7 separate regions of the Homo sapiens genome follow, and regions 2, 3, 4, 5, 6 and 7 are each linked to region 1. Evidence: promoter capture Hi-C in human tissues and cell types (Jung and others, 2019). All regions are on one chromosome and are shown on one strand. The core of a region is centred on a gene start or on the middle of the fragment in contact, and the rest is flanking DNA. Distances in the headings are between cores, read along the strand shown.

What was found. Contacts are between HindIII fragments. The study calls those that stand out against the background at their distance.
Region 2: a contact is called between a fragment that was not itself captured here and the fragment with the promoter of COL3A1 in region 1, in 2 of the 25 tissues and cell types used here (aorta and mesenchymal stem cells).
Region 3: a contact is called between a fragment that was not itself captured here and the fragment with the promoter of COL3A1 in region 1, in 1 of the 25 tissues and cell types used here (aorta).
Region 4: a fragment that was not itself captured here is called in contact with the fragment with the promoter of COL3A1 in region 1 in 2 of the 25 tissues and cell types used here (aorta and mesenchymal stem cells).
Region 5: a contact is called between a fragment that was not itself captured here and the fragment with the promoter of COL3A1 in region 1, in 1 of the 25 tissues and cell types used here (psoas muscle).
Region 6: a fragment that was not itself captured here is called in contact with the fragment with the promoter of COL3A1 in region 1 in 1 of the 25 tissues and cell types used here (mesenchymal stem cells).
Region 7: a contact is called between a fragment that was not itself captured here and the fragment with the promoter of COL3A1 in region 1, in 1 of the 25 tissues and cell types used here (aorta).

What each region holds. Positions count from the first base shown.
Region 1 is chr2:188,972,440-188,976,431 of GRCh38, forward strand. COL3A1 (collagen type III alpha 1 chain) reads left to right here and starts at 1,934. Exons shown (of 51, transcript NM_000090.4): 1 at 1,934-2,129. The coding sequence starts at 2,051. The region is part of intron 1 of LOC105373791 (a long non-coding RNA gene); the gene reads right to left. The HindIII fragment of the contact is 6,513 bases long and covers 1-3,954 here.
Region 2 is chr2:188,548,903-188,552,894 of GRCh38, forward strand. The region is part of intron 7 of GULP1 (GULP PTB domain containing engulfment adaptor 1); the gene reads left to right. Among named protein-coding and RNA genes, the nearest start is that of DIRC1, 240 kb to the right of the region's middle. The HindIII fragment of the contact is 7,041 bases long and covers 1-3,992 here.
Region 3 is chr2:188,564,966-188,568,957 of GRCh38, forward strand. All of the region lies in intron 7 of GULP1 (GULP PTB domain containing engulfment adaptor 1), which reads left to right. Among named protein-coding and RNA genes, the nearest start is that of DIRC1, 220 kb to the right of the region's middle. The HindIII fragment of the contact is 4,888 bases long and covers 1-3,992 here.
Region 4 is chr2:189,356,458-189,360,449 of GRCh38, forward strand. It overlaps a transcript of COL5A2 not described here. Among named protein-coding and RNA genes, the nearest start is that of WDR75, 83 kb to the right of the region's middle. The HindIII fragment of the contact is 4,125 bases long and covers 115-3,992 here.
Region 5 is chr2:188,611,925-188,615,916 of GRCh38, forward strand. No RefSeq gene overlaps it. Among named protein-coding and RNA genes, the nearest start is that of DIRC1, 180 kb to the right of the region's middle. The HindIII fragment of the contact is 3,960 bases long and covers 1-3,929 here.
Region 6 is chr2:188,628,719-188,632,710 of GRCh38, forward strand. No RefSeq gene overlaps it. Among named protein-coding and RNA genes, the nearest start is that of DIRC1, 160 kb to the right of the region's middle. The HindIII fragment of the contact is 4,693 bases long and covers 1-3,992 here.
Region 7 is chr2:188,647,206-188,651,197 of GRCh38, forward strand. No RefSeq gene overlaps it. Among named protein-coding and RNA genes, the nearest start is that of DIRC1, 140 kb to the right of the region's middle. The HindIII fragment of the contact is 4,565 bases long and covers 1-3,992 here.

The sequences.
Region 1 (3,992 bases), core at 684-3,183:
TGTCTGAAAGACAGAAAGATGCATATAACAGCCTTTCCCCAGCATCTCTACTGTGATCCAGTAGAAAAGCTTATATTCATGACCATTCTCAACAGTTACTTTTCTCCCACGCCCCCAAGCAGTGACTCTCCAATCTAAAATAAAGATACACAAGAGGTTGGTCTCGTTCTAGTTTTCCTTTCCTGTCATCAAATGATGTCATCTACATTGAGATGTCTTGGTTTGTGTCCTTGTGACTGAAGATATAAGAAAGCTTGGGAGGCCGAGGCGGGCGGATCACGAGGTCAGGACATCAAGACCATCCTGACTAACACGGTGAAACCCCGTCTCTACTAAAAATACAAAAAATTAACCAGGCGTAGTGGCGGGCGCCTGTAGTCCCAGCTACTCGGGAGGCTGAGGCAGGAGAATGGCGTGAACCCGGGAGGCGGAGCTTGCCGTGAGCCGAGATTGCGCCACTGCAGTCTAGCCTGGGCGAGAGAGGGCGACCCCGTCGCAAAAAAAAAAAAAAAAAAGATGCAAGAAACAAGAAAGCAAGTTTGCCACTGTCCATGCTTACAGGATTCATGTACACCTGGGAATATACATATGACATGAGTTGAGTGAAAATTTAGTAACACAAATTAGAAGAAAGAGAAAGATGAAAATTAGTTTAAAGGAGGTAATTTACTTAAGGAGGAAAGTTTTGCATTGAGGCATAAGGAAGTGACTTCCATTAATTGGTGTGAAATGGGGAGAATTTTATGTGCACAGGCATAGAGACGGACATGTTTAGGTGAAGGTGAAGAAAATTAGTTCAAGTGACCTTGATTAGAATTGAAATGTCCACCGTAGATTATAGAGATAGATGAACTAACTATGAACTGATGATTAGGGTGTAAAGAGATATCTCCATTGCCAGATATAGCCTTATACTGTGGACAAGCATATTTTTCCTGCAGAGATTTATCAAAGACCTATAAATGGTATTTGCCCCTCTTTCAAATATGACACAAAAATTACTGCTTAGATAGATCCAGAAATACATTGGAAAGTTTTGTGGATGAGGATCTGGAAAGTATACACATAAAAGTCTAAATTAGAAATATTTATACTAATCTTTAGAGTAATGCAGAAAAAATGACCACTTTCTCTGGTACTCTTTTGCTATTCTATGTGATAAACTCTTTCTCTTCCAGTTTCCTAAAAAGTTATGTCATGAAAAGGCTGAATTTTTCTCTAGAAAAATCTGCTCTGTCTTTCCCAGGCAGCATAAAAATTGGAAATCTCACAAGAAAGCACTCTGGCTTGCTAAAGAAATTTGTGAGAAATGGAAACAGCTATAGATAAGTATCTAACTTTTAGGAAGCCATTCAAACATTGCTGAAATACTTTGTCTTTTGATATTTGCCTGAAACTTAACTTCTAGGACCCAGGGTGGGTGGATGAGTCGAAGGGGCATACGGTGGCATTTCTTTCCGTGAGTCTCTTACAGTCTCCTATTTAAATTGAGTTAGGATTACTTCTGGCAAAATCCCAACATAAAAATCTTCTAGGAAGATCAGTTCTGTAAATTAGACATACTAGATAAATGGGCATCAAGCAGTTTTTCAAAATTATGCAGTTGTTAACTTCATAAGGGGAAATAAAAATGTATGCATTTACATTGTATGTATTAAAACAAGGCAGAGCATTTCTATACGTTCCTAAGTTATACAAACATATATGTAAGAGTGAAATATGTAAAAAAACTTTTACATAAGCAGATGCATACAAACTCCAGATGTGCTCTTTTTCTTACTGTGGGTTGTGTCTTCTATAAGGGAAAAAGAAATATTTATCATTTCTTTTACTGCTGAGGGGATGGGTGCGGCTCTCATATTTCAGAAAGGGGCTGGAAAGTGAGGGAAGCCAAACTTTTTCCTATTTAAGGCCAAAGCAAAGGAATCTCAGTGGCTGAGTTTTATGACGGGCCCGGTGCTGAAGGGCAGGGAACAACTTGATGGTGCTACTTTGAACTGCTTTTCTTTTCTCCTTTTTGCACAAAGAGTCTCATGTCTGATATTTAGACATGATGAGCTTTGTGCAAAAGGGGAGCTGGCTACTTCTCGCTCTGCTTCATCCCACTATTATTTTGGCACAACAGGAAGGTGAGTAGGTACTGATTTCAAGAAACTTTATGGGATTTTTGTCTTTCTTCTCCTCACAAAGAGGGGTGTAAAGGGGAAAATCAGTTGCCTGATTCAAGATAATTTCCTCTATAAGCTCCAGATTGTGAAACGTTGAACTGACCATGGCTGTGCTTTTTACATTACTTGAAAAATAATCGCGTTATGTGTGTTTTTAAGAGTTCTGTGGTTAAGATAAGATGTTCTTGTACTAACTTGTTTTCATGTTAAAGGCACTGGAAACTTTTAAAAATGGCTTTAAAATTTTTCCCTCCTGGATTGTTAACATCTTGGAATACTTCCCCAGGCAGTCTGGAAGTTATTGGTCTCTTGCAATAATTTTATGTTCCTCTTTGTCTGCTGGATTCTTTGTAAGGTTAGAATATTGAGCATTGTTTTCTGAATAAGAATGCCTTTCAAATATCATGGATTAAGAACAGTCTAAAGGAAGATTCTACGCATTATCAGAATCATTGAATATATTTCTGTAAAATGGCTACAAGATACCTATAAACATTCTTCAAAGGGATCAAACTGCTAAAATATTTTATTATTCCTGTTTTTATTTTGTTTCAAGAATGATTGATTAATTCATCTTTTCTAGTAGCTTGATATTAAGGGACTAATATTTTCCACATATTCTACGTTTTAACCACATTCGCATTAATGAAGAAAATATTTTTTAAAATGTTTCAACAGGAGGTTTGACTTTGCTGCAAACAAGGTAAAGATACTAGTACTGTTTGACTTCAGAAAGCTGTTTTGCTATATTTTCTAATAATTGCATGTAATGTTTTTCATATTCTAATTTCCCCTAAAAACACATTTGTCTCATTATTTATGTGAAAATATTCTTTTATTTACCATAGTCATGAAAATGCTGAACAAATTGGAATACAAACTTCCATAGAAATAAATATTTAAGTGCTAAATGTAAAGATAGCTAGGAGAAATTATTAGACAATTTTTATTGCACATAACTAAACATGGTTACATTTAAACATATAGATTTTGCAAAGGACACTGCATGAAAATTTGGTTTTTGTTTGTAATATCAAATGTATTTGTTGTCCTCATAGCTAATACATGTAAATGTGTGTATGAGGGGAGGGGTAGATATACAATGAAATGTCTTCAGTTATATTCAGCCCATGGACACAAAAGAAAAGAAACACCCATTTTCCTTGTTCCCTTAATTTCCTCTCCTCCTTACCCCTCCTCTCCTTCGCTTTGCCCTCCTCCTTATCTCTCTCCACCCCTTTTGGCTCCTTTAGACTTCTCTTCACTCATCACCCCACCCCTTCCTAGGCAAGCCCATATCTACTCCTCTCTCCTCCTCTGTCTTCCCTGCCTGTTACTCCCTCCCTACTCCCCATGTGGCCTCCTTATGCCTCCATTTCTTTTTTTTAGTTCTCTCTCTCCTTGCCTCCTCACCCTTTCTTTCCCCTGAACTCTCAATCCTTCTTCCTTTCTCATTCCTCTCCCCTTTTCCTCCCTATCCTGCTCTTCCCAGGAGATGCTACAACTCACAGTCCTTTTTTAGGATACCAAATGACTACTATCCCCCACCAACCATTTATTGAAAAGACTACAAACTTAGGGGTTTTAGCTCAAAAAATTGCAACATATTTGTAGTTGCCTCGTGGTTGCAAGCTTTTTATAAGCACTGTGGCTATTTTTCTTCCCAATCCAACTTTAGTGGGGGGGTGTTTGCCACTTACAGTACCTTGACATCACATTAAGTTCTGTTTATTTCCCTCTTTCTCTTTAGATGCAAAAAATAATCAATAAGTATAAAATTTTGCTGATATGTGTTTGTGTGTTCTTAAGCTCAAAAAGAGTTGA
Region 2 (3,992 bases), core at 690-3,189, 420 kb before region 1:
AGGCAAATAAAATGCACCTTGACCTAAACCTCACACTCTATCTAAAAATTAACTGAAAATTCATCATGGACTTAGATATAAAAATACAACTATAAAACATTTAGAAAAAAAACACATGGGAAATCTTCAGGATGTAGGGCTAGGAAAAGAGTTCTTAGAATTGACATCCATAGCAGGATTTAAAATGGGGGAAAATGATATACTGAACTTTTGAAAACATTTTTCTATGTATAAGTGCTTTGTTCCATGTCTTAGGAAAGCATTCTTTTTTTATCATAAAGTAAAATATCTGTATTTTGTTTAGATGCTCCTTATCAAATTAGGGATGAAAAGACGGGGAGAAAGTATTAGCAAACCACATATCAGACAAATAACTAGTAAAAAATCATTCAACACTCAACAATATGAAAACAATGAAATTAGAACATGAACAAAAGACAACAAGATGCATTTCATTGAAGAGGATATACAGATGGAAAGTAAGCACGTGAAAAGATGTCAAACATTGGTGTCCATTAGGGAAATGCAAATTAAAATCAAAATAAGATATTACTACAGAATTATCAGACAGGCTACAATAAAATCACCAAATGCTGGTAAGAATGGGGAAAAAGTACATCATTCACACATAGCTGATGGAGATATAAAATGGTATGGCCATTCAGGAAAAACAGTTTGGCAGTTTTATAAGAAACTGAACATGCAGCTGTCCTATGAAATACTTGGACATTTATCCCAGAGAAATCAAAACTTAAAATGTTCACACAAAAACCTATACACAAATATTTATAGAAGCTTATTCATAATAGCCGAAAACTACAATCCATCCAGAAAATGTGTGAAGGGACATTACTTAGCAATAAAAAGGCATGAACTATTAGACACACAACAATGTGGATGACTCTCCAGAGATTAAGGAATGCAAAAAGTCTATCTCAAAAGCCTGTGTACTCTATGATTCCATTTCTATAACATTCTTAAAATAGCAAAATTAAGGAAATGGAGAACAATTAGTGATTGCCAGAGGTTAAGGAGATGGTGAGGGCAGGCTAGAAGAGGATGTGCTTATAAAACAGCAAGATGAAGGACTCTTGTCGTAATCAAATTATTCTGTATTCTGACTATATTATGAATATCCTGATTGCAATTGGTACTATAGTTTTGCAATATATTATCATTAGAATAACCTGGACAAAGGATACACAAGATCTCTCTGTATTATTTCTCACAGCTGAGTGTAAATCTAAATTATCTGAAAATAAAGTTTACTTTAAATATCTGAAAAATAAAGTATGGCCTATTTGGACCAAACCTTTTGTCTTATTTTAAGTAAATGCAGGCCAAAAAGAATTAGTTTCTTTCCTAGAGTGACAAGCTAGATAGAAACAGAATTTGAACTTAGAGGAAGGCTTACCTTAGCATACTACAAAACTAGAACAGAGAATTTATTGTGATATGGTTGATTTTTATTATAAATTAAATATAATTGCTGTCAACTGTTTAACCATTATTTTGATTTTCTTTATTTTTCACAATTTCATTTCCAAATGTTAATAAATATACCTTATTTGCTGAATGCTGCTTTTAATATAATTTAAAGAGTAGCCCCAATAAACAAATGAAATTATCACACACACATTTTTTAATGATGTGAAAGGAACTGTAAAATAAGGCAAAGTTTAAAACTTCATTTTTACATCTTAATTAATTCTCCGTAAAAAGGGTTCATTGTCAAAAGAATCATACATTATTAGTACTAGAAGGAATCACTGCATCCAGTCGTTTTACAAGGTCTGTCTGTGAGAAGGTGTTTACTGCATATTCTTATTATAGCCATATTTCACGTTTGCTTTGTGTTAATAATTTTTGAATCACATTTATCAAAATAAAAAATTAATGTTTTTTTTATTTCATTACATGATTGAGGGAGAGCTAATTTCTTAGATTAGCCATCCAACTTAATGTAATTAGTTTAAAATTAGAATCTGGAAGCTTATTGTTGCTGAGTATTTCCTGCCAATACCAATTTTCATGTCTCCATTTCATGAAATACTATAATTTACATATCAAGTCCCTGAGTTTAAAAACTCTGAAGAATTGGCTTATTATGACAACAAGCAGGAGTGACCAGCTGTAAACTAGAAAACTAATTTTTTAGTTAATTTGTCTGAGGTTCTTTTGTATGTGATTTTTTAAGACAAACTTTCTTTTATTTGAACAAATTTATGGAGTAGATGTGAAACATTGTTACATGGATATAATATGTAGTGATCAAGTCAAGGCATTTAGGGAGGGCATCACCTGAGTACAATACATTTATATTAACTATAGTCACCTTACTCTACTATCAAACATTGAATTTATTCCTTCTCTCTAACTGTATGTTTGTACCCATTAACCCACTTCTCTTCATCCTCCTTTCCCCATTTATTCTTCTCAGGCTCTGTTATCCATCTTTCTACTCTCTACCTCCATGTGATGAAATACTTTGCTTTCACATGTAAATAAGAGCATGCAATATTTGTCTTTTTGTGCCTTATTTATTTCACTTAAGATAATGACCTCCAGTTCCATCCATGTTGCTGCAAATGATATGATATCATTACTTTTATGGCCAAATAATATTTCATTATGCATATATACACCACATTTTCTTCATCCATTTATCCATTGGCGGACATTTAGGTTGATTCCATATGTTTGCTATTGTGAATAGTGCTGAAATAAACATCTCAGTGCAGGAATCCCTTTGATATATTGATTTCTTTTCATTTGGATGGATACCCAGTAGTGGAGCTGCTAGATCAAATGATAAGTATATTTGCAGGTTTTTTTTTGAAATCTTCATACTGTTTTCCGTAGTAGCTTTAGTAGTTTACATTTCCACCAATAGTGCATAAAAGTTCCTTTTTCTCCACATCCTCGCCAACCTCTGTTATCTTTTGTCTTTTTGACAATAGCCATTCTGACTGGGTTAAGATGATAACATTGTGGTTTTGGTTTGCATTCTGTGATGATTATAATATTGAGCATGTTTTAATATACTTGCTGGCTGAATGTGTGTCTTCCTCCGGGAAATGTCTATTCATGTTCTTTCCCATTTTTTTTTAAATGGGAACATTTTTTTTTTCTAAGTTGTTTGAGTTCCTTGTATATTCTGGAAGTTAGTCCTCTGTCAGATGAATAATCCGAAAATATTTTCTCCAATTCAAAAGTTGTTTCTTCATTCTGTTGATTATTTATTTTTCTGTGTAGATGCTTTTTAGTGTAATTAAGTACCATTTGTCCATTTTTGTTTGTGTTGCCAGTACTTTTGAGATCTTAGTCATAAATTCTCTGCCTAGCCCAATGTTCAGTAGTTTTCCTTAGATTTTCTTTTAATATTTTTACAGTTCCAGATATTACATTTAAGTTTTTAGGCCACTTTGAGTTGATTTTTATATATGGTGATAGGGGTCCAGTTTCATTCTATTCAATTCAATTTTCCCAGCACCATTAATTGAAGAGGATGTTCTTTCTCCAGTGTAACTTCTTTTTGGCTTTGTCAAACCTCAGTTGACTGTAAATAAGTGGTTTTATTTCTGAGTTCTTTATTCTATTCCATTATTCTGTGTGTCTGTTTTTATACCAATACCATACTGCTTTGGTTACTGTTACCTTGTATATTTTGAAGTCGGGTAATGTGATGCCTCCAGCTTGGCTCTTTTTGCTCAGAATTGCTTTAAGTTTGCCGTTTCTTATTCTGTGATGAATGATGTCAGTATTTTGATAGGCATTGCATTGAATCTACAGGTTGCTTTGGATGGTAGTCATTTAAATGATATTATTTCTTATGATCCATGAATATAGGATATTTTTCTATTTGTTTGTGTCATTGACTATTTCTTTTATCAGTCAATAAATAGTTCTCTCCTTATAGAGAACTTTTACCTCCTTGGTTAAATTTATTCATATATATATATATTTATTCCTATATATGTATATACATATAT
Region 3 (3,992 bases), core at 970-3,469, 410 kb before region 1:
AAATGGTTTTGAAATAACTAGCTAAATATATGGGAAAAAATTATGAAAATTATCTCCTACTTACGCTACATAAAACTATTTGAGGTGGATCATAGACATAAAAGTAGAAGCTTTTGTAATCTTATACGTAACTTTCATTAAAAAACATAGAATGTCATTATGAACTTTGGATGGATAGTGATTTCCTGGAAATGACCCCAAAAGCACTACACATGAACAAAAAAAGGATACAATGGACTTTATCAAAAATAAAACATTTTCTGTTAATCTATAAACACTATCAGCAAACTGAAAAAGCAAGTGGCTATATTCCCAATACGTGTATCTGAAAAAGGATCTGTATCCAGACTATATAAAAAACTCCTAAAAATCACAAATAAAAAGACAAAACACCTAATAAAAGTGGGCAGTAGACTTCTACAGGGAGTTAGTTTATTAAAGAGAACATAAAAGAGGCAATGAACACACGAAACTGAGCAATATTATTATTCAACAGGGAAATATAAATTTAAAACACATTACTATAGCATCACTCATCCAATATATTGTCTCAAATGAAAAAGACTGTCAATATCTTGTTTCTGAGAATGTGACATAATGAGAACTCTCTTAACTGCTGGTGGAAATGCAAAATTATATTATTACTTTGGAAAACAGTTGCACAGTTTCTTATAATGTTAAACCTCCCATGATTTAACAGTTACATTCTAGATATTTACCAAGAGACAAGAAAACATATGTCTACAAAAAGATCTTAGAAGAATGTTTGTGGTAGTTTCATGTCTAATAACTAAGAACTGACAAAACCATGAATGTCCATCCATAGTACAATGGATAAATCACTTGTGGTATATTTGTAACATGAAATGCTAATCAGCAACAAAACCAATGTGTTATTGATAAGTACAACACGTATGAAACTCAGAAACTTTAATTTAGTAGAAGAATACAGACACAAAATAATACATATTAGTCTATTTTTATAGATATCAAGGACAGGCAAAACTGATTTATAATGATAAAAATTGAAGAATCGTCACCCATAATAGATGAGATTTGACTGAAAGTAGGCATAAGAGACATTCTGGTGGGCTAGAAATATTCTTTATTTTTAATAAGTTGGAGATTATATATCTTATATGATTCATAAATTTATCATGATCTGTGCATTTCATTGTATATAAATTTTACCCCCCACCTCCAAAAATGTGATGGTTGGAGAGTCAGAAATCTGGATTTAAATTCAGTTTCTCCATTCACTAGCTTTAGGCAAGTTATACAACTTTACAAAATTGCAGTTTCATCATATGTATTGTGGGGTAATAATAATCCTTACTTCAGAGCCATGATGAGAATCAAGTAAGATAATATATGCAGAATATTTACTAGACAGCTAAGTGCCTAGTAAAGATGTTATTATAAAATGAGAACATGGTTTTTTAAAGTTATTAATATAAATAAATAATATGAGGCCAAATGTCATTAATGAATAATTAATAATGTTACCATTTAAATGATTCTTTATAATGTACAAATTGAGTATTTAAAGATAACATAATGTCTCGTTAAAAGGATACATCGACACTTTGGGAGGCCAAGGCGGGTGGATCACCTGTGGTCAGGAGTTCAAGACCAGCCTGGCTAACGTGGTGAAACCCAGTCTCTATAAAAATAAAAAAAATTAGCTGGGTGTGGTGGTGCGTGCCTGTAGTCCCAGCTACTCAGGAAGCTGAGACAGGAGAATCTCTTGAACTCGGGAGTGGAGGTTGCAGTGAGCTGAGATTGCGCCACTGCACTCCAGCCTGGGTAGCTGAGTGAGACTCCATCTCAAAAAAAAAAAAAAAAAAAAAAAAAAGGGGAAGGATACATCGAAATCATAATTTAGAAGGGAAGCAACCTATAATTAAAAATCCAACCATCTGACAAAGGTCTAATATCCAGAATTTGCAAGGAACTTAAACTTATTTATAAGAAAAAAACAACCCCATCACAAAGCGGGCAAAGGATATGAAGAGACACTTCTCAAAAGAAGACATTTATGCAGCCAAGAAGCATATGAAAAAAAAACTCAACATCACTGATCATCAGAGAAATGCAAATCAAAACCACAATGAGGTACCATCTCACACCAGTCAGAAGGGTGATTATTAAAAAGTCAGGAAAAAATAGATGCTGGCAAGGCTGTGGAGAAATATAAATGTTTTTACACTGTTGGTGGGGATGTAAATTAGTTCAGTTATTGTGGAAGACAGTGTGGCGATTCCTCAAGGATCTAGAACTAGAACTACCATTTGACCCAGAGATCTCATTACTGGGTATATACCCAAAGGAATACAAATCATGCTACTATAAAGACAAATGCACGCGTATGTTTATTGCAGCACTATTTCCAATAGCAAAGACTTGGAACCAACCCAAATGCCCATCAATGATAGATTGGATAAAGAAAAGGTGGTACATATATCCCATATCCCATGGAATACTCTGCAGCCATAAAAAGGAATGAGATAATGTCCTTTGCAGGGACATGGATGAAGCTGGAAGCTATCATCCTTAGCAAACTAACACAGGAACAGAAAACCAAACACCACATGTTCTCACCCAGAAGTGGGAGTTGAACAATGAGAACACATGGACACAGAGAGGGGAACAACACACACCAGGACCCATTAGGGGGTGGGAGGCGAGGGGAGGGAACTTAGAGGATGGGTCAATAGGTGCAGCAAACCACCATGGCACACGTATACTGTATAACTAACCTGCACATTCTGCACATGTATCCCATTTTGTTTTGGAAGAAATTTTTAAAAAGAAGAAGAAAAACGTCTTTTTATTGTAAAATAAACAGAAACCTATTACCCAAAGTTTTGAAATGAGAAACAGAAAACAAATTATTCATAATCCCACAATCTATCAAAACCACTTCTTTAATATTACAAATAATCTTAATATCTAACACAACCAATTAGTTTAAGTCAATGAACATGCATACATTGGTATCTGTCATTTTCATTTATTTGGTAGTTTTTATTATAGCTCGTTGTTTACTTTCTTGTCTTTTTTCTTTTCTTTTGTAAAACAGTCTTCCTTTAAAATATTATGTACATATTTTGCATTTTTTAGTTAACTAGGTTAAATACTATATTTTTGTCTAAAACCCTCCTTAAATAATGAACTATAAAAATTCTATTAAATGATATAAGATGATTAACAAAGCATGTTTTCATTTTATGTTGATCACAGTAGATAATAAATTATTAGAATTTGTAGTAGAGTTAAAGCATAGCATTTTCAATATATATTACTACTAGTCTTCTTGTTATCTGGAGGTCTTACTAAATATGACATAATTGTGACAACATTAAATCTTATTGATGCCTTTACCAAAATTCTTTATAATGTTGATTAAGTAAATAAATCTTTAGTCTTTACTATGTGCAAGACATTATGAATTCAGTGGAGATATGAATGGAGAAGAAATGAGCTTGTGGATGTAAGATATATTTGTGGCAGTTTCAAATCAATAGATCTGAGATTGTAAGTTGTTTACAAGCCCAAATTCAGATGACATATATATTTTGATCACTGGCACTGTGTTTTACCAAAATACAAACTGTTTACCATCGCTTAAAATTGGGAGCTCTCATATAAAATTTCAGACTTCTGGCCTCATCTTTCATACATAAGATCTGACAGTTTCAGATTGGAATTGCTCACTTCCACCAGGCAACAATTAACTGGGACAGAGTAGCAGGTGTTCCATTTAGAGGGCATACCTCAAGTTTTCCAGAGACACCACCTGGCCAGCCTCATTCAAGTTACCTGCTTAGGGTTTAACAAACCCTCCTCACAAGGAAAAGGAAATAAATAGCAAAGCAAGGAGAGAAACTACATTTGGCACTCTGCTTTCATTTCATAGGCACTAAATATTTGAGAAAGGGAGAAAAACAAGTAGGAAAAAACAATACAATAAAAGAGATGAGAAGTTTGAC
Region 4 (3,992 bases), core at 927-3,426, 380 kb after region 1:
TGTCTTCTCGCTTTATTTCATTGAGTTGATCTTCAATCTCTGATATCCTTTCTTCCACTTGATCGATTCGGCTATCGATACTTGTGCATGCTTCATGAAGTTCTCATACTGTTTTTCAGCTCCATCAGGTCATGTATGCTCTTCTCTAAACTGATTATTCTAGTTAGCAATTCATCTAACCTTTTTTCAAAGTTCTTAGCTTCCTTGCATTGGGTTAGAACATGCTCCTTTAACTCGGAGGAGTTTGTTATTACCCACCTTCTGAAGCCTACTTCTGTCAATTCATCAAACTCATTCTCCATTCAGTTTTGTTCCCTTGCTGGCGAGGAGTTGTGATCCTTTGGAGGAGAAGAGGCATTCTGGTTTTCGGAATTTTCAGCCTTTTTGCACTGGTTTCTCTCCATCTTCGTGGATTTATCTACCTTTGGTCTTTGATGTTGGTGACCTTCAGATGGGGCCTCTGAGTGGATGTCCTTTTTGTTGATGTTGATGCTATTCCTTTCTGTTTGTTAGTTTTCCTTCTTACATGCCCCTCTGCTGCAGGTCTGCTGGAGTGTGCTGGAGGTCCACTCCAGACCCTGTTTGCCTGGGTATCACCAGCAGAGGCTGCAGAACAGCAGAGATTGCTATCTGTTCCTTCCTCTGGAAGCTTTGTCCCAGAGGGCCATCGACCAGATGCCAGCCAGAGCTCTCCTGTAGGAGATGTCTGTCGGCCCCTACTGGGAGGTGTTTCCCAGTCAGGATACACAGAGGTCAGGGGCCCACTTGAGGAGCCACTCTGACCCTTATCAGAACTCGAATGCTGTGCTGGGAGATCCACTGCTTTCTTCAGAGCCGTCAGGCAGGGACGTTTAAGTCTGCTGAAGCTACACCCACAGATGCCCCTTCCCCCAGGTGCTCTGTCTCAGGGAGATGGGGGTTTTATCTATAAGTTCCTGACTGGGGCTACTGCCTTTTTTTCAGGAGGAATCTAGAGAGGCAGTCTGGCTGCAGCGGCCTTGCTGAGCTGTGGTGGGCTCCACCAAATTCAAACTTCCCAGTGGCTTTGTTTACACTGTGAGGGTAAAACCGCCTACTCAAGCCTCAGCAATGGTGGACACCCCTCCCCCTACCAAGCTCAAGTGTTCCAGGTCAACCACAGACTGCTGTGCTGGCAGCAAGAATTTCAAGCCAGTGGATCTTAGCTTGCTGGGCTCATGGGGGTGGGAACTGCTGAGCCAGACCACTTTGCTCCCTGGCTTCAGCCCCCTTTCCCAGGGAGTGAACGGTTCTGTCTCACTGGCATTCCAGGTGCCACTCGGGTATGAAAAAAAAAAAAAAAAACTCCTGCAGCTGCTCAGTGTCTGCCCAAAGGGCTCCCCAGTTTTGTGCTTGAAACCCAGGACCCTGGTGGCATAGGCACCAGAGGGAATCTCCTGGTCTGTGGGTTGTGAAGACTGTGGGGAAAAATGCAGTATCTGGGCCAGAGTGCACTGTTCCTCATGGCACAGCCCCTCACGGCTTCCCTTGGCTAGGGGAGGGAAAGCCCATGACCCCTTGCACCTCCCAGGTGAGGTGACACCCCACCCTGCTTCAGCTCACCCTCTGTGGGCTGCACCCACTGTCCAACCAGTCCCAATGAGATAAACCGGGTACCTCAGTTGGAAATTTAGAAATCACCCACCTTCTATGTCGATCTCGCTGGGAGCTGCAGACTGGAGCTGTTCCTGTTTGGCCATATGGTCAGCAGATCCAATTTACTGAATATTTTAAGCCCATTGTTGATACCTACTGCTCAGAAAAAAAAAAATCACTTCAAAATATTAGTGCTCATTTACAATGCTCCTAGTCAACTGAGAACTCTGATGGAGATGTAAAAAGAGATTACTGTTGTTTTCATGCCTGCTAACAAAACATTTATTTTGCAGCCCATGGATCAAGGAATAATTCTGATTTTCAAGTATTGATTTTAAGAAATACATTTCATAAGGCTATAGCTGCTGTATTTATGACATTTTCATGCTGTTTGGGTTGCTATAGCCTTGTAGGATATTTTGAAATTAAGTAGTGTGATGCCCCCAGCTTTGTTCTTTTTGCTCATAGTTGCTTTGGCTATTTGGAGTCTTCTGTGGTTCCATATAAATTTTAGGAATTTTTTTCTACTTCTGTGAAGAACATCTTAGGTGTTTTGACAAATATTACAATGAATCTGTAGATTGCTTTGGATAGTGTGAACATTTTAAAAATATTAAGTCTTCTAAGCCATAAGAAAGTGATACTTTCCATTTTATTGTGTGCGTCTTCTCTTCAATTTCTTTCATCAGTATTTTATAGTTTTGTATAAAGATCTTTCACTTCTTTGATTAAATTTATTCCTAGGTACTTTTTGTAGCTATTATAAAAGTGATTGCCTTCTTGATTTTTTTTTTCAGATTGTTTGCTATTGATGTGTAGAAGCACTACTAATATTTTTATGTTGGTTTTGTAACCTGCAATTTTGCTAAATTTGTCTATCAATTCTAACAGTGTTTTTGGTGGAGTGGTTAGGATTTCCTATATATAAGATCAAGTAGTGTGCAAACAGGGACTATTTAACTTCTCCTTTCCCAATTTGAATACCATTTTTTCTCTTTTTACTGATTGCTTTTGCTAGAAATTCTATTATTATGATGAGTAGAAGTGACAAGAGTGGACATCCTTGTCTTGTTCCTGATCTTGGAGAAAAAGCTTTCAATTTTTCACCATTGAGTATGATATTAGCTGTGGATCTGTCATACAAATATGGTCTTTATTTTGTTGAGGTATACTTCTTCTATATCTAATTTGCTGAGAGTTTTTATCATAAGCAGATGTTGAATTTTGTCAAATGCCTTTTCTGCATCTACTGAGATGATTGTTTGATTTTTGTCCTTCATTCCGTTAGTATGGTGTATCACATTTATTGATATGCACATTTGAATCACCCTTGCATCCCAAGGATAAATCTCCCTTGATCATAGTGAATAATCCTTTTAAATGCTGTTGAATTCAATTTGTTAGTATTTTGTTGATTTTCGCATTTCTGCTTCTCAGGGATACTGGCCTGTAGCTTTCGTTTTTGGTGCGTCCTTGTCTGGTTTTGATATCAGGGTAATGTTAGCTTCATAGAATGAGAATAGAAGTATTCCCGCCTCTTCAACTTTTTGGAATAGTTTGAGTAGAATTGGTGTTGGCTCTTATTTAAATCTTTTATAGATTCAGTAGTGAAGCCATCAGGTCCTGGGCTTTTCTTTGATGGGAGACTTTTTATTACTGTTTTAATCATGTTATACATTATTGGTCTAAACAGGATTTCTATTTTTTTCATGGTTCAATCTTGGTAGGTTCTATATGTCCAGGAATTTATCTATTTGTTAGTAGGTTTTACAATTTGTTGGCATATAGTTACCATAGTAGTCTCTAATAATCCCTTGTATTTCTGTGTTATCAGTTGTAACGTCTTCTTTTTGATCTCAGATTTTATGTGAGTCTTCTCTCTTTTTGCTTAGTCTAGCTAAAGATTTGTCAATTTTGTTTATCTTTTCAAAACACCAACTTTTGTTTCATTGATCTTTTTTAAGTCTCCATTTCATTTATTTTTGCTCTAATCTTTATTATTTATTTCCTTCTACTACTTTTATGTTTGGTTTGTTCTTACTTTTCTATTTGCTTGAGGTGCATCATTAGGTTGTTTATTCAGCCTTTCTACTTTTTGATATAGGTGTTTATTGCTAAGAACTCCTGTCTTAAGGATATTTGTCAGTAATATTCACTACTGTATGCTCAGCACCTAGAAAAATTTATGGCAAATAGGATACATTTTTAAAATTTTGTTTAGTTAAAATTTTAATTAGGATTTTGCCTATCTTAACAACATTATATTTCAACCAGTAAATAGCAGTTTCAAGCAAAAACAAAAACAAAACTCCCCTCCTAGAACTGCTTTTGCTGTATCCCATAGGTTTTGGTATGTTGTGTTTCCATTTTCATTTTTC
Region 5 (3,992 bases), core at 700-3,199, 360 kb before region 1:
GACCCACTCTTGTGATAACTAACCTAATCCCATAATACCCATCAATCCATTAATCTAATAATCCATGAATAGATTAATCCATTCATGTGGGCAGGGACCTTATGACCCAATCAACACTTAAAGGCCACACATATTAATACCATTACATTAGAGATTAAGTCTCAATATGAGTTTAAGAGGGGACAGATTTTCAAACCATAGCAAATACTTTTGGAAAAAGTCAAGTAATATCACTATATATATATAACGTGTGGTGTCACAGAGTCTTTATTCCTGAGGAATTGACCCTTCCTTCAGTCAATCGGCTCTGGTTCTAAAAACTTGCTCAATTCTTGATGCTGGTTAAGAGGTTATAAATTTTTATTGGAGAAGCTGATTATCTATCCTCGATTTCTCTTGATTGAGTAAAACTATATTGATAGCTATAGATTCGGCAGTACTTTTTCTGGCTGACCATAGACCATATTTGTAGACTGAGCAAGACTCTTTTTGGTTAACCATTTACATTGACCATAGGGATGCCATGTTTTGTTGATCATTTCCATAGCTTTTACCTGTCAAGAACATCTGCCTAAGAGGCCAACTTTGTTGCTCTTTATGATAATGCAGTGCTTTACATTTGATGGCTAACTGCCTCTACTTGACCTCTGTTTGGAGGTCCTATTATTTTCATTGTTATCTGTAATACCATATTTTCTATCACTTTAGTAAATGGGGTATCCTCTCGGTGATTCTAAGGAACATAGCTGTTGAATTTTGGGGGCTTACATGCTTTATCTGCTTTAGTAGCACTTCTCTGATCCTTGTATCTTCTTTCACTGTCTATTACAAATGTTCTTTGATTGTATATTTTCCTGGAAAAGGCCATCACTTTCTTGAAGCTTCTAAAAACTATCTCATTGGCATGGTGAAATTGTCTAAGTAACAAAATATATGGACCACAGAAGAGCAATCCCATATCAATAAATTCTTCCTTCTAAAACCTACAATTTCTTTCTTTTTTATAATTTTTAATTGATACATAATAATTGTACTTATGCAGTAGAGGATATTTCGATAAATGTATACAATGGGTAATAATCAAATCAGGTAATTAGCATATGTGTCATCTAAAAAAATTTGTCATTTCTTTGTGTTGGGAACATTCAAAATTCCTCTAGCTTTTGAAAATATATGATATATTATTAATTATAGTTATACTACAGTGTCATAGAACACTAGAACTTACTCCTGTCTAGCTGTAATTTTGTATTCATTAACTACTACCAGTCCCAGTCTCTAGTAACCACTACTCTGTTCTCTAATTCTATGAGATCAATTTTTTAAACATCCACATATAAGTGAAAACATGTGGTATTTATCTTTCTGTGCCTGTCTGAATTCATTTAATATAATGTCCTCCTGGCTTATCCATGTTGCCCAAATGACAAGATTTCATTCTTTTTTGTGGATTAATTTTATTCCATTGTGTATATATACTGTACTTTATTCATTCATCTTCTGATAGACACTTAGTTTGATTTCATATCTTGGCTATTGTGAATAATGCTGCAATGAACATGGGAGTGCAGATATCTATTTGATTTCTATTCCTTTGGATACATACCTAGCAGTAAGATTGCTGGATCATATGGTAGTTGTGTTTTTAGTTTTTTTTGAGCAACCTCCATACAGTTTTCCATAGTGACTGTACTAATTGACATTTGCACTAGCAGTGTATAACAGTTCCCTTTTCTCTGCATTTGTTGTGTTTTGTCCTTTTGATAATTACCATTCTAACTGGAGTGAGATGATATCTCATTGTGTTGGTTTTGATTTGTATTTCCGTGATGTTAAGCATTTTAAAATATACTATTTGGCCATTTGTATGATTCTTTTGAGGAATGTCTATGCAGATCAATTGGCCAATTGTTATTTGGATTGTTGATTCATTCTGTTGATTGTTTCCTTTGCTGTGTGGAAGCTTTTTACTTAGATATAATCCCATGTATCCATTTTCACTTTTGTTGCCTGTGCTTTCAGTAACTTATTTATAAAAATATTTGCCCAGACCAATGTTATTGAGTTTTTCTTCTAAGTTTTCTGCTAATACTTTCACAGTTTCTCATCTTATATTTAATTTTCTTTAACCTATTTTGTGTTTACGGTTATTTGTGGTGAGAGATAATGGTCTAATTTCATTCTTCCAAATATAGACATTCAGCTTTCCCGGCACCATTTATTGAAGAAACTGTCATTTCCCCAATAAAATGTTCTTGATAGCTTTGTTAAAATCACTTAGCTGAATATATGTAGATTTATATATGGTTTTCTATCTGAACTCAGAGTGGAACAGAATTAATATTCTGTTCTATTGACCAATGTGTCTGCTTTTATACCAGTACCATGCTATTTTGATTACTATAGATTTGGTATATTTTGAAGTCAGGCAGTTGATTTCTCTTTGTTCTTTTTGCTCAGCATCACTTTGACTATTTGAGATCTTCTGGAGTTCTACACAAATTTAATTTTTTCTCTATTTTTGTGAATAATGGCATTGGTGTTTTGATAGGAATTGCATTGAATCTGTAGATTGCTTTAAGTTTTATAGCCATTTTAGCAATATTACTTCTTCCATTCCATGGACATAAGATGTGTTTCCGTTTTTTTAGCGTCCTCTTCAATTATTTTAATCAGTATTTTTTAGTTTTTATTGTACAGGTGTTTTGAACTCCTTGATTAAATTTATGCCTTGATATTTTAATTTTTCTAGCTTTTATAAATGGTGATGGCTTTCTTAATTTTTTCTTCAGATAGTTCATTATTGGTATATTGAAAAAACTACTAATTTTTGCATATTGATTTTGTATCCTGCAATTTTAGTGAATTTATCCATCAGTTTTAAGATTTTTTTTGTGTGTGAAGTCTTTAGGTTTTTTCCTGTATAAGATCACATTATCTCAAACAGAAACATTTTTGCTTCCTATTTTCCAATTTAGGAAAATTTCTAAATTGGAATTTCACTGGCTAGTACTTTCTGTATTATATTCAATAAGAGTGATGAAAGTGGACATCTATGTCTTGTTCCAGTTTTTACAGGCAAAGATTTCAATTTTTCCCCATCCATATGATATTAGTTATAGGTTTTCTGCATATGGCCTTTACTATTTTTAGGTATGTTCCTTTTATGCCTAATTTGTGAGAGTTTTTACCATGAAGGGATATTGAATTTTATCAAATACTTTTTCTGTGTTTATTGAGATGGTGATATAACTTTTGTCCTTCATTCTGTTGATGCAATGTATCATATTTATTGATTTGTGTATATTTGACCACCCTTGCATTCCGGCATGAATCCTACTTGATCATGGTGTCTAATCATTTTCATGTGCTGATTAGATTTGTTTTTCTAATATTTTTGTTGTTTTTTTCTAGTATGTTTTTTTAAATTATTTTTTTCCTGGAATCCTTTCTTGAAGTTTCCTAGTATTTTGTTGAGGATTTTTGTATCTATATTCATCAGGGATATTGCCCTGTAGTTTTTTATTCTTTTGTGTCCTTGTCTAATATCAACATTAAAGTAATACTGGCCTTATAAAAATAAGTTTGGACAAATTTCCTCCCCTTCAATTTTTTGTAATATTTTGAAAGGAATTAGTGTTAGTTCTTCTCTAAATGTCTGGTGGCATTTGTTCAGAAATTTATCTATTTTATCTAGGTTTCCCAATTTGTTGGCATACAGTTGTTTATGATAGTGTCTACCTATCTTTTGTATATCTGCACTATCAATTATAATTTCTCTTTTTTCATCTCTGATTTTATTTATTTGGATCTTCCTTTGTTCTTGGTCTAGCTAATGATTTGCTGATTTAAAAAAATCTTTTTAGTGAATTAATTTTTCATTTTGTTGATCCTGTGTGTGTATGTGTGTGTGTGTGTGTGTGTGTGTGTGTGTTTTAAGTCACTATTTTGTTTATTTCTGTTTTGATCTTTTATTATTATTATTATTTCTA
Region 6 (3,992 bases), core at 803-3,302, 340 kb before region 1:
GCCTGTGCTTCCCCAACTTCTTCAACCCACCAATACCATCCTTTCCTACCTCAAATAAGAAAAAAACTACCTTGTCTTGTTTCACAAGGAAACTTACGTCCTAGTACCAGTTACTCAGAATCACTTGCAGAAAACAAAAAAACATTATCTAGTTCCTAGATAACATGGGGAGGCTTAATCATTCAGTTTCCTCATGAGATATATATGTATGTTCTCCATTTAAAATAGGTGATTATTTCTATTTTGCCTCATTTAAGCTATGTGGTCTATATTGCCCCTTAAGGGCCAAGGCAGAAAAGAAATGGGGGGATGGAGCCATTTATCTCAAGGGACATCCATTTGTTTTGAATCCTTAAAGTCCCAGTGCTAAGGATTCTGAAAATGTTCTTGATATGGGAAACCTCCAGGCTCTAGCCTTCTCTTGCAGAATCAGCCAGAAGCCTGGGAAAATCTGAGAGGGAAGGATGAAAATAAAGGAAGGATGACTACTGCAGAGGCATGCAATGTTTTTTGGGTTTTTTTTTTTTTTTTTTTTTTTTGTGGTTGACATAATAAAACATCAGGAACAAGAAACACGGCACACAACCCATGATGGAGACACCAAAAAGCCCCAAATTGGGGCATTCCCCATTCCTGACTATGGAATTTAGTATTTAAGAGTCTCACAATCCCCAAGGTTCCACAGTGTAATCCTTATTATTGGATCCAGGAGTTGGCAGTTGTTTCCCTTTTGTTTACAGATCAGTTATTCCATCCATGGCCTCAGGGATGTGAGTAATCCTGTAACAAAGAATTCTGGGAGTGGTTAAAAGTCATGGCTGGCCAACATTTCAATAAGCTTGAGGTGCCTTCAGCGAAGGGCAGGGCATAGACCAGTGGGCTTCTAAAAGGCCAGGCAGAAGAATCCAAGGGATCTGAGTCTTCATTCTCTGGAGCGACTGCTGATTACAAGCACATGGCACAGAATTGTGACGGGACCCCTGGGGACAGGTCTTGAATGAATCCCTTTTATACTTCTCTCCACAGTTTATGACATCTAGGTTTAGGAAAGCAGAGTGTAGATGGGAAATGTTAGAAAAAGCACAGGATGCTCTTTTTTTTTGGAGTGTTTTAGATACTTTACTTGAGAATGCTGCACTGTAAAAGCCAAGCCAGGCCAGTGAACTAGAAGATAAAATTTCCTCTTTCTTTGTTCATTGCATCTCATGCAGAAGTGCTGCTGTCTTGAAGTCTGGCATAGGCTCTGCTCTATATGGCCTTGCTCTGCTCAGAGGGCATTGGCTATAAATGGAAAGGGGTGTGGGAAGTTTAGAAAAAGCTCACTGGGTTGATATTTCTTTCACAATCCTTTGTTTAAGTCCTAGCCAAGAAAACCCCTGGAGGAAGGGCAGGGGACCTAAAGGTAATGGGCTCTGCAAAGAACCAAATGTGCAGTTATTCTTTTTGACTTGCTGTGGGCATTAGGGCTGTCAGCCAAACTCCTGGAGGCCTTGGAAGAGAAAGTAGTTCTAAAGCTCTGTTTCTCCTTAATCTGTCTCAACAAAAAAAAAAAGAAAGAAAAGAAAAAGCCTGACATTCAAATTGTAAAAACTTTTTCTCAGCTTCAACTGGGGGAGAGTAAAGAAGGTTAAAAGTCAGCATTCATTCCATTCTTGAATGTTAAGAACATCTTTACAATCCTGCTGAGAGCAAGCACAAATGGATCTTAAAGGTCACATATGTTAGCAGTCTGATGTTGACATAAAGGCAGCCAATTTTGATAGCTTTACAGATGGCTCCTGGTTGACATTCCTACCCAGATTCTCCATGAACTGTTCTAGACCTGAAAAGCCTATGACAGAATGGGAAGGGGACCGTGGAATGAGAAAGGAGGCATAAAGCTTTGTGCCTGCTCTAGGCTTCCAGGCCCCAGTTCTCCCATAGAACTTTCAGCAAAACCAGGGCAAGACCTTCCATAACAGTGCATTATACTACATTTAATTTCCATTATAGTGTTTCAATGTATACAATGCTATGTGTGTAAGTTTTAATCTATACACTAGGACAAGTACCCCAATCAAGAATATATAATTCAGGGTTAGATAGTTAGCATTTTAAATACCTGAATTAAGAATTCACACACCAGAGAAAGTTAACAGAGAGGAGCTTTAAATAATTCTACTTTAATCTGCCTTAGAGAGTTGATTATTTTTCATAAGGAATGGTAGAAGTCCTTGATGGCCTAGACAAAATAGGCAGCTCAGCTCTTGTATTAATGGAAGAAAGGACCTGGCTGGATAATATCCTAGGCTTGGAATTTGTACTGGTCTTGTGCAAGGCCACCTATAGATAATTCTGCCCTGACTCTGATTAGATTAACAGAATCCTGACACTAAGGTAGTATCGAATATGCCTCAGACGAGCTTTTCATGTAGGTCCTTCCTGGAATGCCTAAACCTCAGAACTCACCAGTTCATAGTGTTAGAGTGGGTAGCTAAGCAGACATGAGCAGGGCAGGAGATGGTACCCCCTCCCCAGGAATGTCAGGTGACCATCACGTGATGGTCAGCGGGTTGTTAAACTGTCTGTCTAAAACAATAATTGGTCGAAGCTGGCACTAGGGAAAGGCAAACTCTCAGTAGGTGGAAAACACCTGATGCTGGTTATCAGCGGCTTCCTAATAAGATCTCAGGAGTTGGGTGAGCAGCCTCAGCATGTACACTAAGAGGCAAAATGGCAGAGTTTAACTGGTATATGAACTTCCTTTAGGAACACTGGACTGGTAAGGGAAAAAATACCTCAAATGAGCATGTGCACAACTTCAGTAAACACATACACATTTCACACGTAGCGCCTCCTAAGTGCTGGCAGGCCACTGTGCGTGCATCCTGCCTGCCCCAAGGAAAACTCAAGGGAGGAGACACACAAACCCTGGAACCATTCCAATGTGTAAAAACTCCATGTCAAGGGTCTGACTGGGTACTTGGATCTCTCAAGTCATCTGCTTGACTCTCTTCCAAGTTTACTTTACTTCCTTTTGTTCCTACTCAAAAACTTGAAAAAAAATGTTCACTCCTGCTCTAAAACTTGCCTTGGTCTTTCCTTCTGTCTTGTGCCTCTCAGCTGAAATTTTTCCTCCAAGGAGGCAAGAATCATGTTTGCTACAGACCTGTTGGATTCACCACTGCTAATGATAGAACAGATTATATGACACTTTTGTGCCTGCTTACTACTAAATGTTATGTAAATATGCCAGAATTCGTTCTAAGTTTCATTTATTATATCTTATCATTTAATATGTATAAACCCAGGTTAGGGGTACAAATGGAGGCCCACATACCATAGCTTTAAAGGTTTAAAATTATAAATCAAGTTGGCAAACTTTAAATTATGTTTTTCCTTCTACCTTGACAACACTGAAACACTATTTATTAATGTCATCTGAGAAGAAGAATGTAATAAATTGACTAAGTTGCCTTTTCTCTTAGTGAAGTGTTTTTACTACTCAAATCCTCTTCACACTCATAAGTACTTTTAATCATGGATTGACAGCAGCAGAGCCCACAGATCTTCACAGGATTAAGATAGTACTGCTTTTTGATGTGAGAATTTTGGGTAAGAAAGAGGAGAAAGCATTTCTGTGAGACCTAAATGGCATCCTTGATATGTGAGTCTCTCTAAGGAGCAAGTTTCAGGAATGGTGCTTCTCTTGCATAGGTCTAGGAAGGTACTGCTTTGAAGTCACAGATATCTAACAAAAATAAAAATAAAAAAACCTTCAAGTTGTGAAGAGCTGAATTAGCTGAAATCAATTATAAACATTTATTGTGGCAGATACTGGAGATGCCCCAGTTATATCCCGTTGGTGTCCCCTCTTCCATGCATTCAGCTCTTAAAGCTCTTACTGTCTTACTGTCAGTGTCTACACTTTGAGGACATCTGGCACTTGCCCTTGCCTAGGGCAGACAAAAATTCTGGAATCGATGCCTTTGTAAGTGTTCTGAACTAGTGAA
Region 7 (3,992 bases), core at 729-3,228, 330 kb before region 1:
TACTTGACTTCACTTATTTGCTGGGTAGTACAAGAGTTACATAATTTTGATTTTGATTCTTTGTTTCTTCACCTGCAAAATGAGATAATTATTAAGAATAAAAGAAGAGCTAATTTTGTATGAATAATAAATATACCAATACACAGTATTATTTCCGCCATCATTTTGTTTGGAAACCCAGCATTACATGGTATATTTTTAATTTTTTACGATTGTATATAAGTGGAGGGGATCAATAATTATAAAAATGGTTTTGACTACTTCATTTAAAAGTCACGTATAAAAAGTAGAAAATATATATATTATATTTCCTGCTGTGCAATCTTAGGGAATTGTGGTATAATCTGTAAGGTTTTGATTTTGCAGCTGTGTTCATTAAGATAACTTTGGACTAAGTCTCGGAAAAAAATTATTGTTGCCAGGAAATCCATCACTAAAGTTTTTAAGTTTCACTAAATTTTCCAGTATTGGATTTCTCAAACAGTCAGATCAAATCTTTTCATTATAGCACATACTTAAAAAGAAAAAAAAAAAAAAACCCTTGACAAAGTATGAAGCTTATTACTTCACACTTGAGGCGTCTCATCCATCTTCAAACTGCTTGCCATGATCCATCAGCTATAATCACCAATTAGATTAATCTTGTTTAAGCTTTGGTTCATTATGTTTTTGTTCACCATTTCTTGCCCTGAAACACTGGATGACCCTGCACCTTCTACTAAATTAAGGTCAAATTCCTTAATCTGGTGATCACAGTCTTCTAAACTATGAATAACCACTCTGTAGCTTTATTATGTATTTCCATGGAATTGGGAGTCTCTATCCCAGCTGTCCTAAGCTTCTTACACTTTCCCTAAACACACATTAGGCTTTTCTTCTTTTAATGACTCTACAGCTTGTGATTAACACACTTCTCTACCATCTTAGTCTATCAGACGTATTTATTTCAAGGCTCATCTTACATGTCTAGAGTAAACATAAATTTAGATTTTCAAGAGAGTCTATTCTATATATGTTTTAATGGGAGTCATAATTAATAAGATTCCTTTAACCCTCAAGAGTATTTCATCAAGTGGTCGTGAATTCAGTCATCCTGATGATCTCAAATACTTTAGTAGCAAGAAAATCTATTGTGGTATAAAGCCTTACCCATAATGGAAAGACAACAATTGTTTGAAAACAAGTAAAGCAGGGGAGGATAGTGTAGAGGAAGTAATAATACAAGAGGGGTGCCAACAAATATGAGATTAACCTTGGTAAAGAAAGACTATACCGGAAATGACTCTTTGTTTATGGCAGAAAAGAAAAATAAGTTAGCAAATTAAAAAATAGTATATGCAAAGCTGCTTATTAAAAGCTTGTATAGTTCAAAATGATTGCTTACATTGTTATTTTTTTAATATATATTTTAATTTTTAGGGTACATGTGCACAACGTGCAGGTTTGTTACATATACATACATGTGCCATGTTGGTGTGCTGCACCCATTAACTCGTCATTTAACATTAGGTATATCTGCTAATGCTATCCCTCCCCCCTCCCCCCACCCCACAACAGGCCCCGGTGTGTGATGTTCCCCTTCCTGTGTCCATGTGTTCTCATTGTTCAGTTCCCACCTATGAGTGAGAACATGCGGGGTTTGATTTTTTGTCCTTGCGATAGTTTGCTGAGAATGATGGTTTCCAGCTTCATCCATGTCTCTACAAAGGACACGAACTCATCATTTCTTATGGCTGCATAGTATTACATGGTGTGTATGTGCCACATTTTCTTAATCCAGTCTATCATTGTTGGACATCTGGGTTGGTTCCAAGTCTTTGCTATTGTGAATAGTGAATAGTGCCGCAATAAACATACGTGTGCATGTGTCTTACAGCAGCATGATTTATAATCCTTTGGGTATATACCCAGTAATGAGATGGCTGGGTCAAATGGTATTTCTAGTTCTAGATCCCTGAGGAATTGCCACACTGACTTCCACAATGGTTGAACTAGTTTACAGTCCCACCAACAGTGTAAAAGTGTTCCTATTTCTCCACATTCTCTCCAGCACCTGTTGTTTCCTGACTTTTTAATGATCGCCATTCTAACTGGTGTGAGATGGTATCTCATTGTGGTTTTGATTTGCATTTCTCTGATGGCCAGGGATGATGAGCCTTTACAGTAACCAAAACAGCATGGTACTGGTACCAAAACAGATATATAGACCAATGGAACAGAACAGAGCCCTCAGAAATAATGCCACATATCTACAACTATCTGATCTTTGACAAACCTGACAAAAACAGGAAATGGGGAAAGGATTCCCTATTTAATAAATGGTACTGGGAAAACTGGCTAGCCATATGTGGAAAGCTGAAACTGGATCCCTTCCTTACACCTTATACTAAAATTAATTCAAGATGGATTAAAGATTTAAATGTTAGACCTAAAACCATAAAAACCCTAGAAGAAAACCTAGGCAATACCATTCAGGACATAGGCATGGGCAAGGACTTCATGTCTAAAACACCAAAAGCAATGGCAACAAAAGCCACAATTGACAAATGGGATCTAATTAAACTAAAGAGCTTCTGCACAGCAAAAGAAACTACCATCAGATTGAACAGGCAACCTACAGAATGGGAGAAAATTTTTGCAGTCTACTCATCTGACAAAGGGCTAATATCCAGAATCTACAATGAACTCCAACAAATTTACAAGAAAAAAACAACCCCATCAACAAGTGGGTGAAGGACATGAACAGACACTTCTCAAAAGAAGACATTTATGGAGCCAAAAGATACATTTTTATTTAATGATACCATGCTTTTAATGTTCACTTAATGTAGTTATAAATGACAAATTGACAATGTTATTTTTTTAAAAATGTGAAATACGAAAAGAAAATGATGGTAGAAATGGATAATACAGAGTAGTAATTTGGAGAATAGACTCTGAAAGCAGACTGTCTAGGTCAGAGTCCTGCCTTTTCTTCTTAATAGCTATATCATTTTGCCAAGTTTTCTAACCTCAGTTTCTTCATTGTCTTGGTTTCCTCATTGTGAAATGGAGGTGACATATCGGTGCCTACCTAATAGAATAATTATGAGATCTCACTTAGTATAATGCTTGGGAATCAGTGAGCCATGTATTAGTAATTGTCAATAAAATAATTATATTTAAGTTGAAGAACAGATTTGAATGGAAAAGGTACTAAACACATTCTATTACTTCTTGCTAATCTGACTGATAAAAAGATATTGTGCCAGCTATGCTTTTTCCATATGATGAGATTCATATACATAAAGCACTGTTTATGTAGGTAGCTTGTTTAGGTATTTAGGTAGCTATTTAAGTACCTTAATTTAAGTTGGTCATAGCACTTATGAGGAAAAAAAATAGCAAGGAGAAATTTGTGATTACTGCCATTGGTTGAACAACTAATTTTTTTAGACAAAACATATCTTCAATCCGCCATCATTCTTAAATTGTAACTATACATAAAGGTTATGTTCTGTATGTGCTTCTTTCCACATTTTATTTATTTATTTTTTGAGACGGAGTCTCTCTCTTTCGCCCAGGCTGGAGTGCAGTGGCGCATCTCGGCTCACTGCAAGCTCTGCCTCCCGGGTTCACGCCATTCTCCTGCCTCAGCCTCCCAAGTAGGTGGGACTACAGTCGCCCGCCACTACGCCTGGGTAATTTTTTGTATTTTTTTTTTTTTAGTAGAGATGGGGTTTCACCATGTTAGCCAGGATGGTCTCGATCTCCTAACCTCATGATCCACCCACCTCGGCTTCCCAAAGTGCTGGGATTACAGGCATGAGCCGCCGTGCCCTGCCTCTACATTATATTTAAGTCATTGGAAGAATATTAAATGTGGAGTGCATATTTGATTTGCTTTGACAAAAAAGTAGGCTTTGTGCACCTCCGTTTTATATATTTATGTAGATTATCAAGGCAAATAAATTTAAGATTCTTGATCTATTGAATTTAAGATGGGACTGGTG